3 separate regions of the Homo sapiens genome follow, and all the other regions are linked to region 1. The links are contacts of gene promoters, found by promoter capture Hi-C in human tissues and cell types (Jung and others, 2019). All regions are on one chromosome and are shown on one strand. Each heading gives the region's core, a stretch centred on a gene start or on the middle of the fragment in contact. The rest is flanking DNA. Distances are from core to core; before and after follow the strand shown. Region 1 holds the start of KCNE4 (potassium voltage-gated channel subfamily E regulatory subunit 4). Region 2 has its middle 100 kb from the start of SCG2. Region 3 has its middle 26 kb from the start of SCG2.

Evidence for each region. Contacts are between HindIII fragments. The study calls those that stand out against the background at their distance.
Region 2: a contact is called between a fragment that was not itself captured here and the fragment with the promoter of KCNE4 in region 1, in 1 of the 25 tissues and cell types used here (mesenchymal stem cells).
Region 3: a contact is called between a fragment that was not itself captured here and the fragment with the promoter of KCNE4 in region 1, in 1 of the 25 tissues and cell types used here (mesenchymal stem cells).

Annotation. Positions count from the first base shown.
Region 1 is chr2:223,050,626-223,054,335 of GRCh38, forward strand. It overlaps KCNE4 (potassium voltage-gated channel subfamily E regulatory subunit 4), which reads left to right and starts at 1,565. Exons shown (of 2, transcript NM_080671.4): 1 at 1,565-1,649; 2 at 2,183-3,710. The coding sequence starts at 2,206. The coding sequence ends at 2,718. RefSeq lists an enhancer at 1,873-2,420. The HindIII fragment of the contact is 5,924 bases long and covers 1-2,650 here.
Region 2 is chr2:223,700,006-223,703,715 of GRCh38, forward strand. No RefSeq gene overlaps it. Among named protein-coding and RNA genes, the nearest start is that of SCG2, 100 kb to the left of the region's middle. RefSeq lists an enhancer at 1-298. The HindIII fragment of the contact is 4,357 bases long and covers 1-3,710 here.
Region 3 is chr2:223,626,732-223,630,441 of GRCh38, forward strand. No RefSeq gene overlaps it. Among named protein-coding and RNA genes, the nearest start is that of SCG2, 26 kb to the left of the region's middle. The HindIII fragment of the contact is 4,424 bases long and covers 1-3,710 here.

The DNA of each region.
Region 1 (3,710 bases), core at 315-2,814:
GTAGGCTTAGATATAGATGGAAGTGTTCTAGTGTTTATGATGGACACCTGTTGAAAAGACCAAGTCTACCATGGCTGAGGTAGCTATGGAGGGTTTTACGTATTAACACAATGGTGAGGGTATCTTTACTGGTGTGAGCACAGTTCCACTGTATGGATGATCGTGATGCTGGAGTGGTCGATGGTTGGTACCTCCAGTGCCAGCTGGGGATTTATGGATGAACACAGGTGAGTAGTCAAGTGGGAAAAATGGCAGCATTCAGTTCATCTTCCTATTCTTCCTCCAGGTGTCTTCTTAGAATCAGGATCAGGTGCAAACCCAGGGGGGTTCCTGTAGCAGCAGTGAAAATTCCAGTGCCTAAGCTATATATGTTCAAGCAGGTCAGGTGGATGTCGCATGCGTCAGTTTGACTACAGCAGAACCATGAGAGATGTTTCCTTTAGAGTTGGCCCACAAGACAGTCTGGCTGCAATCCACAGGCCACAGACAACTGGAGGGAGTGGATCTCTCCCAGTTTCCTTCCACTTAGCATGAAAGCCTCAGAATAAGCAGCCCAGGGAGCAGAGAGACTGACATTAAAGCCTGCAATTCCTCTTCCAATTTTGATCACAGCAGCCATTTAAACACAGGGTCTACCGAGGTTTAAAAAACTTGAACTGTGCTTAGTTGCACTCTGAAATAGTCCTGCTCCTCCCCTGACCTACGAGAGACAGCAAAGAGACGTGTCAATAGCCTCCGCATGAGGCTTCAGAGGAGCAGCTGTGTATGGCAGGACGGAACAAAACCTGCCCATAGTATCTTTTACGACAACATGTTTCCACTTAATGCAGACCACTGAAAAGAATGTGGGAGCTTTTAAAAAAAAATTATTATAAACATAGGTTTGTGACCTTGATGTGGAAGGCAGCTAGAATCTCTGCTTTTAGAGGGCTAAGCAACACCAGGCAGCCTTCAATCTTAGAAGGGTTAAGCTGAAAGGGTCTCAAAAGGTCACGTGGTTTATATAATCCTACCTGCAGAAGACCCCCCCCCCCGCCAGGCACAACGATTTTACAGACGAGGAATGTGAGGTGCGGAGAGGTTAAGGAAGGATTTATCTTATTTGCATAAGGAGTGGAAGAACTGAAACCGAAGCCCCAGTTCCTTGACTGTAAATCCCGCACTTGCTTCCAACTGTCTTTCATCCAGATTATGGGATTCAGCTGCCTCTGAAAACCTGTAGCCCAATAATGGTTATTCCCCAGGAGCCGCGCGAAGCATGAGCTAATTTTCAGTGAGCGCGGACTTTGGGGTAACGGTTCCAGCACAGCACATCCCTTTCTCCTCTTTTCACTCATCGTCACCGCTACCTGAAAACCCTGGCCGGGTGCTGGGGCTTGAGGAGCAGTTCCCACTTCCCAGTCTTTTTCACTTTTCACAGCTGCAAAGTTCAGGGAGTTGAACTGCAGTGCTTTCAGTTCACTGCTCACTCTGCCACGATCAATCTCTGTTGTAAATTTTCCTCCCAGAGCACGTGACGATGCACTTCTTGACTATATATCCCAACTGCAGCAGCGGAGTTGTCAGAGCGCAGAGCCGGACAGAGCAGAAGAACCCTCTTGGACTGGACGATTTGGGAATTCAAAACTTGGGACAAACTGTCAGCCTTGGTAAGTCAGCAAGGCTACACTTTGCTTTCAGAAACATTTGAAAGAGGGACATTTTTGCCAATTAATAGATGAATTTTTTTCCTTTATTTTCTTCCTGCTTTTCTTTGTTCTAAGGAAACATTGTTTTGAATTTAAAATAGTTTGGTTTTGGAAACACAATGTAAACTTTGTTTCTGCTCAGTTAAAATACGTTTCCCAGTTTTAAAGATACTATTTACTGTATGCTCCTGTCTTACATTGATTTTTTTTTTAATCAAAGTAATACTGCTCACTACAAACAGGACAAATGTGTACACTAAAAAAAAAAAAAAAAGTCCTTCTTACTTTTCCCAGTGAACCTTCCCGGGCTTCTCTCCCGTGCACTCCAAGCCCTCATAGCTCACTCTTGTCAGCTGTTTGGCGAACCCTCTTATGCTATTTCTTTCATGCACTTTTAAGCTTTTTTGGTATTGCAGTTCCACAAACCTCGTGCTCCCCCACCTCCCTGTGCCCAGGACCTGGGGGAGAGTTCTAACCTGCGGCTTTTTCCCCAGCCCCTGCTGTGGAGGCAGCCTCAATGCTGAAAATGGAGCCTCTGAACAGCACGCACCCCGGCACCGCCGCCTCCAGCAGCCCCCTGGAGTCCCGTGCGGCCGGCGGCGGCAGCGGCAATGGCAACGAGTACTTCTACATTCTGGTTGTCATGTCCTTCTACGGCATTTTCTTGATCGGAATCATGCTGGGCTACATGAAATCCAAGAGGCGGGAGAAGAAGTCCAGCCTCCTGCTGCTGTACAAAGACGAGGAGCGGCTCTGGGGGGAGGCCATGAAGCCGCTGCCTGTGGTGTCGGGCCTGAGGTCGGTGCAGGTGCCCCTGATGCTGAACATGCTGCAGGAGAGCGTGGCGCCCGCGCTGTCCTGCACCCTCTGTTCCATGGAAGGGGACAGCGTGAGCTCCGAGTCCTCCTCCCCGGACGTGCACCTCACCATTCAGGAGGAGGGGGCAGACGATGAGCTGGAGGAGACCTCGGAGACGCCCCTCAACGAGAGCAGCGAAGGGTCCTCGGAGAACATCCATCAGAATTCCTAGCACCCCCGGGACCCCTGCCGGTGGCTCCATCAGCCAGCAACCTTAGAGAGAGGAAAGACAGTTTTCAAGTGTCTGGTTTCACTTTCACAGTGCGGCTGCCACTTTGAAGAGACCCTTGGTAAACCCCTGATTCGGGGTGGGGTGGGGGACTAGGCTCAGCCGGAACCAGCACCTCCAAGGAGTCCGGGAGGTGCCTGTGGTTTGCACCCACCACTGAAAAAGCCGCGGAGATGCGCAGCGCGTACACTGACTTTGGGGCCTGGGTGTTGGGGTTCTGATCAGAATTTGGCGGGATGATATGTTTGCCATTTTCTCACTGGATGCCCTGGGTAGCTCCTGCAGGGTCTGCCTGTTCCCAGGGCTGCCGAATGCTTAGGACACGCTGAGAGACTAGTTGTGATTTGCTATTTTGCCTAGAGCTTTGTCCTTCTAGATCTGATTGGCTGTAAGTATCTCTACTGTGTACCTGTGGCATTCCTTCACAGTGGGTTACAAGCTTCTTTTGGATTAGAGGGGGATTTTTGATGGGAGAAAGCTGGAGATCTGAACCCAGCCCATTTGCACACTATAAGAAAAAAAAGTAACTTTTAAACCTGTTAACATTGGCCGGGGTTATAAGAGATGATCTTCTATTTTGACCTTTTGTCTAACTTATGACCTTGAACTCTGACCTGTGACCATGCAGCATCACATGATGGCATGACGTTCTTTGGATCAGAAGAGCTTCCCCAGAATCTAACCTGCACTCCCGATGGTGGTTCAGGAGACTCTTCCTGATCTTTCTAGAAGGGGTAAAGTGGGGTTGAACAAGGCCAAGCCGTTAGCTCTGCTGCTGCTCAGTTTCCCAGCCTAGTTTTCTGAGCTGGGAGAGGACATAATGTGGTATTTCGTCACGTAGCTGAGACCTAGAAGGGCATACTCAGGCGGAGATTGCACAAAGCTGGGCTCCAAGTTCTGTGCTTCCTGATCCCGAGCCCTGACACTCATTTGCT
Region 2 (3,710 bases), core at 842-3,341, 650 kb after region 1:
AAATACAATGAAATAATCTACAATCTCTTGCCATGGGTCACGTAAATCCATATGTATTAAAAAGAAATCAAATTAACAATTTGAAAAACCAGTCATGGCCACTCCACAGCAGCCAACATCATAAAATCTACAACTCCAGGGTCTAGAACATGTTTAGTAATTTTATCTAATAAACTGGAAAATGTAAAATGTTTCATCTCAGGGGAAAAAATGATATTAAATTTCTGTTACATTTGGTTCTCTTATATCCATTCAGACCCCTGGATTCATATTCATGATGGATAAACACCTCTTTCTAAGGCCAAGTGAGCCCATGAGATGATAACATGCTCTCTAATCCTACTATTATTTTCTCTTTGTTTTTTTATGGTTCTTTTAATCTGTTTATCTACATGACAAGCAAGTAGTAGAAATATGTCGAATTTCTGAGTTCTTATAGTATTCTTTTACGACTAGGTATGACCTAGCTAATCTTGTTAGCTAGTCGGAACAGTTGGTGAGACAACTGTTTGGCAGCCTCTATTCATTTGTTCATTTGCTTCTTTTACCACCAAAACATAGGATGAAATTTTCTACTGGTTTTAACTTAATTTTCATCCCAAGTTAGTGCAACTGGTGTATGTATGAAGCCGTAGCTGCATAACCCGGGTAGGACTGAAGCCAGGAACATCAGTGCCCAATCTTAGCTGCCCTGCAGAGCCCAGCTGAGGGGAACGTGCCAGGGTGATTTGATCGTTTAGTCTGCTGAATTATCTGTCAGAATTTTTCAGAATGGAGCTACAAGTGAGGGGTACTGTTTATAAAGAGGAAACAGCCTCCATAAGCAAGTATTAATTCCATGATGAGGAAGCAACCCCAAAAGGTAGAAATATTGGCTGGGCGCCGTGGCTTATGCCTGTAATCCCAGCACTTTGGGGGGCCAAGGTGGGTGGATCACCTGAGATCAGGAGTTCAAGACCAGCCTGGCCAACATGGCAAAACCTCATCTCTACTAAAAATACAGAAATTAGCCGGATGTGATGGCGGGCGCCTGTAGTACCAGCTACTCGGGAGGCTGAGGCAGGAGAATTGCTTGAACCCAAGAGGCAGAGGTTGCAGTGAGCTGAGATCATGCCACTGCACTCCAGCCTGGGTGACATAGCAAGACTCTGTCTCAAAAAAAAATAAAATAAAATAAAATAAAACAAAAGAGGTAGAAATATTTAATTAAGGTGCCTATTTCTAGTAGTAAGTACTTATAGAACATTTACCATGTGCCAGATACATTGTCATTTAAGGTACCTTACATATATGGACTCAATCTTCAACCACATAAGAGTGCCATTGTTTTATTTATTTATTTATCTATTTATTTTTATTTATTTTGAGACAGGGTCTCACTCTGTCGCCCAGGCTGGAGTGCAGTGGCACCAAGCAATTCTCCTGCCTCAGCCTCCCAAGTAACTAGGGTTACAGGTCCGTGCCACCATGCCAGGCTAATTTTTGTATTATTAGTGGAGACAGGGTTTCACCATGTTGGCCAGGCTGGTCTCAAACTCCTGACCTCAGGTGATCCTCCCCCCTCCACCTCCCAAAGAGCTGGGATTATAGGCGTGAGCCACTGCACACGGCCTGAGGATACCATTATTATTATCTCCATATTAAGAATGAAGAGATTAAAAGTCAGAGGTTAAGTAAATTGCCAATGTCACACAGCTGGAAAGTGGCGCTGCCAGTATTTCAAGTCTAGTTCAGAGTCTGTGCTCTTAACCAGTATGTTGTACTGCCATTTATAGACAATAAAGGAAAGTTCTACTTATTGATGAAGTGTATTTCTAGAAATGGGGTCAGAAAACCTTACAGTTAAAAGCACCACTTTTTTCTATAATCTCCATGTAGTCAGCAGTTACTCTAGGTGGTGATCTTAATTGGAAAGGAACAATACAGATTTAAATTTAAACCAGAAGAAACTGACGAGTCAGCTGCTCAAGCAGACAAATGGAATGAGACTATATGGGCAGCATCAGATATATCAACCAGAGAAATTCAGGGTAGCAAGAATTAGAGACTGCCTGTCACAGAAACAAGTATATACTGGGCTCCCTACTCTGGATTGCTATGGCAACAAGCTATATACACCAGATGATTTAGCAATTGGTATAAATTGTCTCAGGTTGTTCAAAACATTTCATCTTCTCTTCCCAATAACATAGTAACTTATCCAAAGTTTGAACTTGTATTGTCCTTGGGTATCTCCCAACATATTCCATCCATTGTTAAAATCAAAATGGTATTTAACACATTTGTTCTTTATGAATTTCATTTTCCATAATATTCTTTTATTATATAACAATTAATATACATAATCACAAAAGCGAGATGCATTTTTTTTTTTTTTTGATACAGAGTCTCGGTCTATCACCCAGGCTGGAGTACAGGGGTGTGACCTTGGCTCACTGCAACCTCCGCCTCCTAGGTTCAAGCTATTCTCCTGCCTCAGCTTCCTGAGTAACTGGGATTACAAGCACCTGCCACCACACCCGGCTAATAACAATATGCATTCTTGATAGCAATTTAAGAATTAAAGTATGCACACACAAAAATTACTTATTTTATCACTATACTTATGCTTTGGTTTGTCTTCTGTCTCCCTCTCAGTGTCTCTCAAGATTGTCATGAGATTTGAATGAGATAGCATGCAAAGTACACAGTACCGTGACTCGCATCAAGTGTTCAAGAAATGGAAGTTATTATTAAGGTAGTGATTACTATTTTTATTTTATGTATTTCTGAAGGGAAGATTTCTAAAAGTAAAATTGTTCCTTAGGCAGGGTGCGGTGGCTCACGCCTGTAATCTCAGCACTTTGGGAGGCCAAGGCAGGCAGATCATGAGGTCAAGAGATTGAGACCATCCTGGCTAACACAGTGAAACCCCGTCTCTACTAAAAAGCACAAAACAATTAGCCGGGCGTGGTGGCAGGCGCCTGTAGTCCCAGCTACTCGGGAGGCTGAGGCAGGAGAATGGCGTGAACCCAGGAGGCCAAGCTTGCAGTAAGCCAAGATCACACCACTGCACTCCAGCCTGGGCAACAGAGCAAGACTCCATCTCAAAGAAAAAAAAAATTGTTCTTTAGAGAGCATGCACATTTTAAATTTTACCAGTAACTGACAAAGTTCCCTCAATTTACCATTTGGGAAATTTACCAATTTCCCATACCAACTCACATTCCCACACAGTATAAGACCTTTCCCCACATCTAAATACTAAATACTATCAACGCTTATGTTTTCACTAGTTTGGGTGAAACATGATAATTCAGTTTAATTTGTATTTCTATTTGTGAGTGAATTAAGCATCTTTTTATGATCATTATTATTAGACATTTGGTGCAGTGGGATTCTGTTCAAATCCTTTCTTCATTTTTTGTATTGGGTTATTTTTCTTCTCTCACTGATTTTTAATAGCACCTTCTATTTCGTGGGTGTTCATTCTCTGTCTCCATCTGCAAATATTTTCTCCAGTTTTCTCAAAGTCTTTTAACTATGTTCATGGTATATTTTATGATTCTAAAATTTAAAAATTGTATGTATTCAAATACATCAATATTTCCCTTTATGGTTTCTGTGTTTGAGGCTTTTCCTGGGAAGGTCTTCCCCATTTCAATATTTATAAAAATATTTCCCTACTGTTTTATTATTTTAGCATACTAATACAATTGTTTAATATATCT
Region 3 (3,710 bases), core at 844-3,343, 580 kb after region 1:
CCAATACCTCAGAATGAGACCTTATTTGGAAATAGGGTCATTGCAGATAAAATTAGTTAAATTAATGTGAAATCATACTGAAGTAGGGTGCTCCTAATCTAATGTGTGTGCTTCTAAAAAGAGAAAGGAAATTTGACCACAGATATGCACACAGGGAGAATGCTGTGGGAACAGGAAGGCAGAGATTAGGGTGATGTAGCAGGAGCTGAGCAATAGCAACCACCACCAGCAAACCACAAAAAGCAGGGGAGAGGCCGGGAGCACTTTTCTCCCTGACAGCTACAGCCCTCAGAAGGAGCTGGTCCTGCTGACACCTTGATCTTGAGCTCGTATCCTCTAGAGCTGTGAGACAAATTCCTGCTGTTTAACTCCTCCACTTTATAATACATTTTTACAGCAGCAAGAGGAAGGGGAAGGAGTGGCACCATCTGGCACCTCTGTAGAGCTTTGTAGAATTTGTTCAGGTTAAGGAATTCATTCTGGAATTTTGGTTAGAGGGTTCTAAATATCTGGGTATGACAATGTACCATAAAGGATATGTTTCCTCTCAACACTTCTAGACAGTAGTGGGGGTTGGTTCAAGGTATGTCCCAGGAAGTTGGGTGCATACATGTGTACTTCTCCCTGTGCAGTCAGCCCAAATACCTCATGGCTGAAGGACAAGGTGTTTGGCTAGAGGAGGGTGCTGCTGAAGATGCTGGTCACCCAACAACCAAATATCCTTCCTATGTGAAGAAATCCCCAAATAGGTAGGAGGCAAGCTTGGGAAGGAGCCGCACTTTGCAAAAAAAAAAAAAAAGGTATGAGATATTTCTCAACTTTGCGCCCTGACATCTGGGATTGGGCCATGTAACTGAGGCTTAGCCAATCAGGTGCTCCCAGTCAGCACTTTGACTCTTGGTGAGTGTTTCCATGAAGGAGGAACAAAGGCTGTCAAAGATGTGGAACAGGGTCCAGTGGCATGGTGACAAGCGTCTCTCTGGGAAGATGCCAATGATAACTACCCACACCAACTAGTATAATGAGGTAACTTTGCCTTGACCTTATCTTCCAAACTCCCCTACTGTTGCCCATTTGTCAAGTCTGCCCCTCTAGCCTTTTATTGTTGGAAAGAGCTGCCTTCCACTAATTGCTGCCAAAGTTATCCCATTGGTATGTGTTGCTTGAAACTAAGGACATTGACTGGTACAGTGACTTCTCCATTCCACCCATGTGAGACCTCAACACTGGGAAACATGAGTCTCTCCAGCTTCTGGGTATTCAGCCATCTGGACCCTAAGAGAGCTCCGTCCCTCTGCTATGCATCCTGGGCACCTTCTGCATGACTACTGCATCTGCTGTTTTGCTTTTCCAGCATGACTGTGAGCTCTTTATGAGACAAGAACAAGCTACTGTTTGGCTTTGGAACCACAGACCCAATCATCTCAGTAGTACATGATAAATGGTGTCTGTTTGTTTGGTTTTTTTCAACATGCTTAGTAATGGAGTGGTCTCTCATCTACCCCAAACCTCTTTCTCCCATTTGAGGACTTGAGAATAGGAAAATGGTTTAGAGAAAATCTAGGAGCAGCAGACAAAATAGAACAACCGGGAGCCTCAGGGTTTCCCCAGTGCTCAGACACCACACTCAAGATGATGCCAGTTGTACCTTCCTTAGACTGGTTTTCCTGCCCCTGGGTCAGTATTTTTTTTTTAACTTTTGATTACTTACACATTAGCATCCACCATTCCTGTCACTTTTCTGTAACTGAAAGCTTAATGTATCATATTGTTCTAAATTCTCTTTTTTTGACCTAATTAACTAGACTCTCCAAAGGCAGTGGTAGGCCTTCAGGGGACTCTTGCTTGAAGCTCCCTCAAGCATTCCAAAATCATGTGGGTACACTAAAGTACCTTCACACACATGGGATTTTTGTTTATTTGTTTTTTACCCCTCTTGGACTTCCATTTCTCCAGTTCTTCTTTGGTTCCCAGAAACTCCATCTCCAGCAGGCAATATGACTTAATTAAGGATATTTGTCTACAAGCTTTAAGTAAGCTTTTCTAATTGCAACAGTTTCGCATTACTTTTGTTCGCATTGATAAGTTATTTAAACACCATGAATAATTCAATATCAGGTTCTGAATTGTTAATCAGAATAATGAGAGCAGCAGTTCAGCACTCTTTAATAATTTGATTTGCAGTGGGTATGAAAAAGGCCTTAAACTTGAGGCTTTGCTCTCAGAGCAAAACAATAAATATCCAAAATAGAAGCTTTGCTGCTCCACAAAGACAGCCTTTTCCCTCCTAATCAGTACTGTCTATGTATGTGTTGATTGCTTTGGATGCAGTGACACAGTGGGGACCTGTGTCACTCCATGGGTATATTTCACAACTGCAAATATCTTTGCATGCCCCCTCACTTTGATTTGCAATCTGTCGGTTAGAAACCTGCCACTAAGAGACAATGTAAAAGCTCCTTTCGCCTAAGGACTGTCAAATAGGCAGAATTTAATAAGTGTCCCATTCAAGGAAAAATTAAGGTTTGCTCTTTATGCAAGCTATCCTTTGCTTCACCTGTGTGTCTTGGTAGATGACACTTATGAATCTGTAACTCCAGCTGCCATCTCTCAAAACAATCTCTGCTTTTGCAAGCCCAAAGGGCCACACGGATGTCCATCATCACCACACGTCCACAGTATAACTGATTCCCTGTAGCTCAGTTTCCTTTCCAAATGCCTTGCTTGATGCCGAGGATGCAGCCTAGCACAGTGGTTAAAAGCACATCAGTGGTGTCTTCCTCCCCAGGTATAAATCATGGTTTTCTACTTCCAGCTGTGTGACCTTAACAGGCTACTTAGACTCTCTGTGCTTCATCTGTAAAAATGGACATGATAACACTAGTACCTACTTCACAGAGTTACCACGAGGATTAAATGAGTTTGCATTTTGAAAGCACTAAGACCAGTTTCTGACACATAACAAGCCTTCTAAAAGTGCTTGTTGAAGAAAATGCTGTTCCACCCCTGGTTGGCATCCAGTAACTATCCTCTCTCCATCTTTCTTTGCCTGGTTCATGCTCTGCTTCCCCCATGAACCTCTTCTTTATGACATCAGTACACAGTGATCTCTCTCTTTCTCGGTTGCAAAAAACACATGGAGTGGATGGAGTTCTGTTTCCTAATTGGCACATATCCACTATATTTATTTTGTGTCCCAATGATTTAGGGGCTTTTTAATTGTTTTTTAAATTTAAGATGTACAACATGATATTTTGATACGCATATACATAGTGAAATGATTACTACCAATGAACAATTTAACATGCCCATCATCTTCCATAGTTACCTCATGTGTGTGTGTGTATGTGTGTGTGTGTGTGTGTGTGTGTGTGTGTGTATGTGGCAACAGTACTTCAAATCTACTCTCTTAGCAAATTATATATATGAGTATGAATTTATATACATAATATATATAATTTATATAATATATATCTACTGTATATACTGTATATATATATTTTAAACAGGGTCCTGCCCTGTCTCAGGCTGGAGTGCAGTGGTGCCATCTCTACTCACTGCAGCCTTTGACCACCTAAGCTCAAGGGATCCTCCCAACTCAGCCCCACTAGTAGCCAGGACTACAGGTGCATGCCACATTGCCAGGCTAATTTTTTTGTGTTTTCTATAGAGATGGGGTTTCACCATGTTGCCCAGGCTGGTCTTGAACT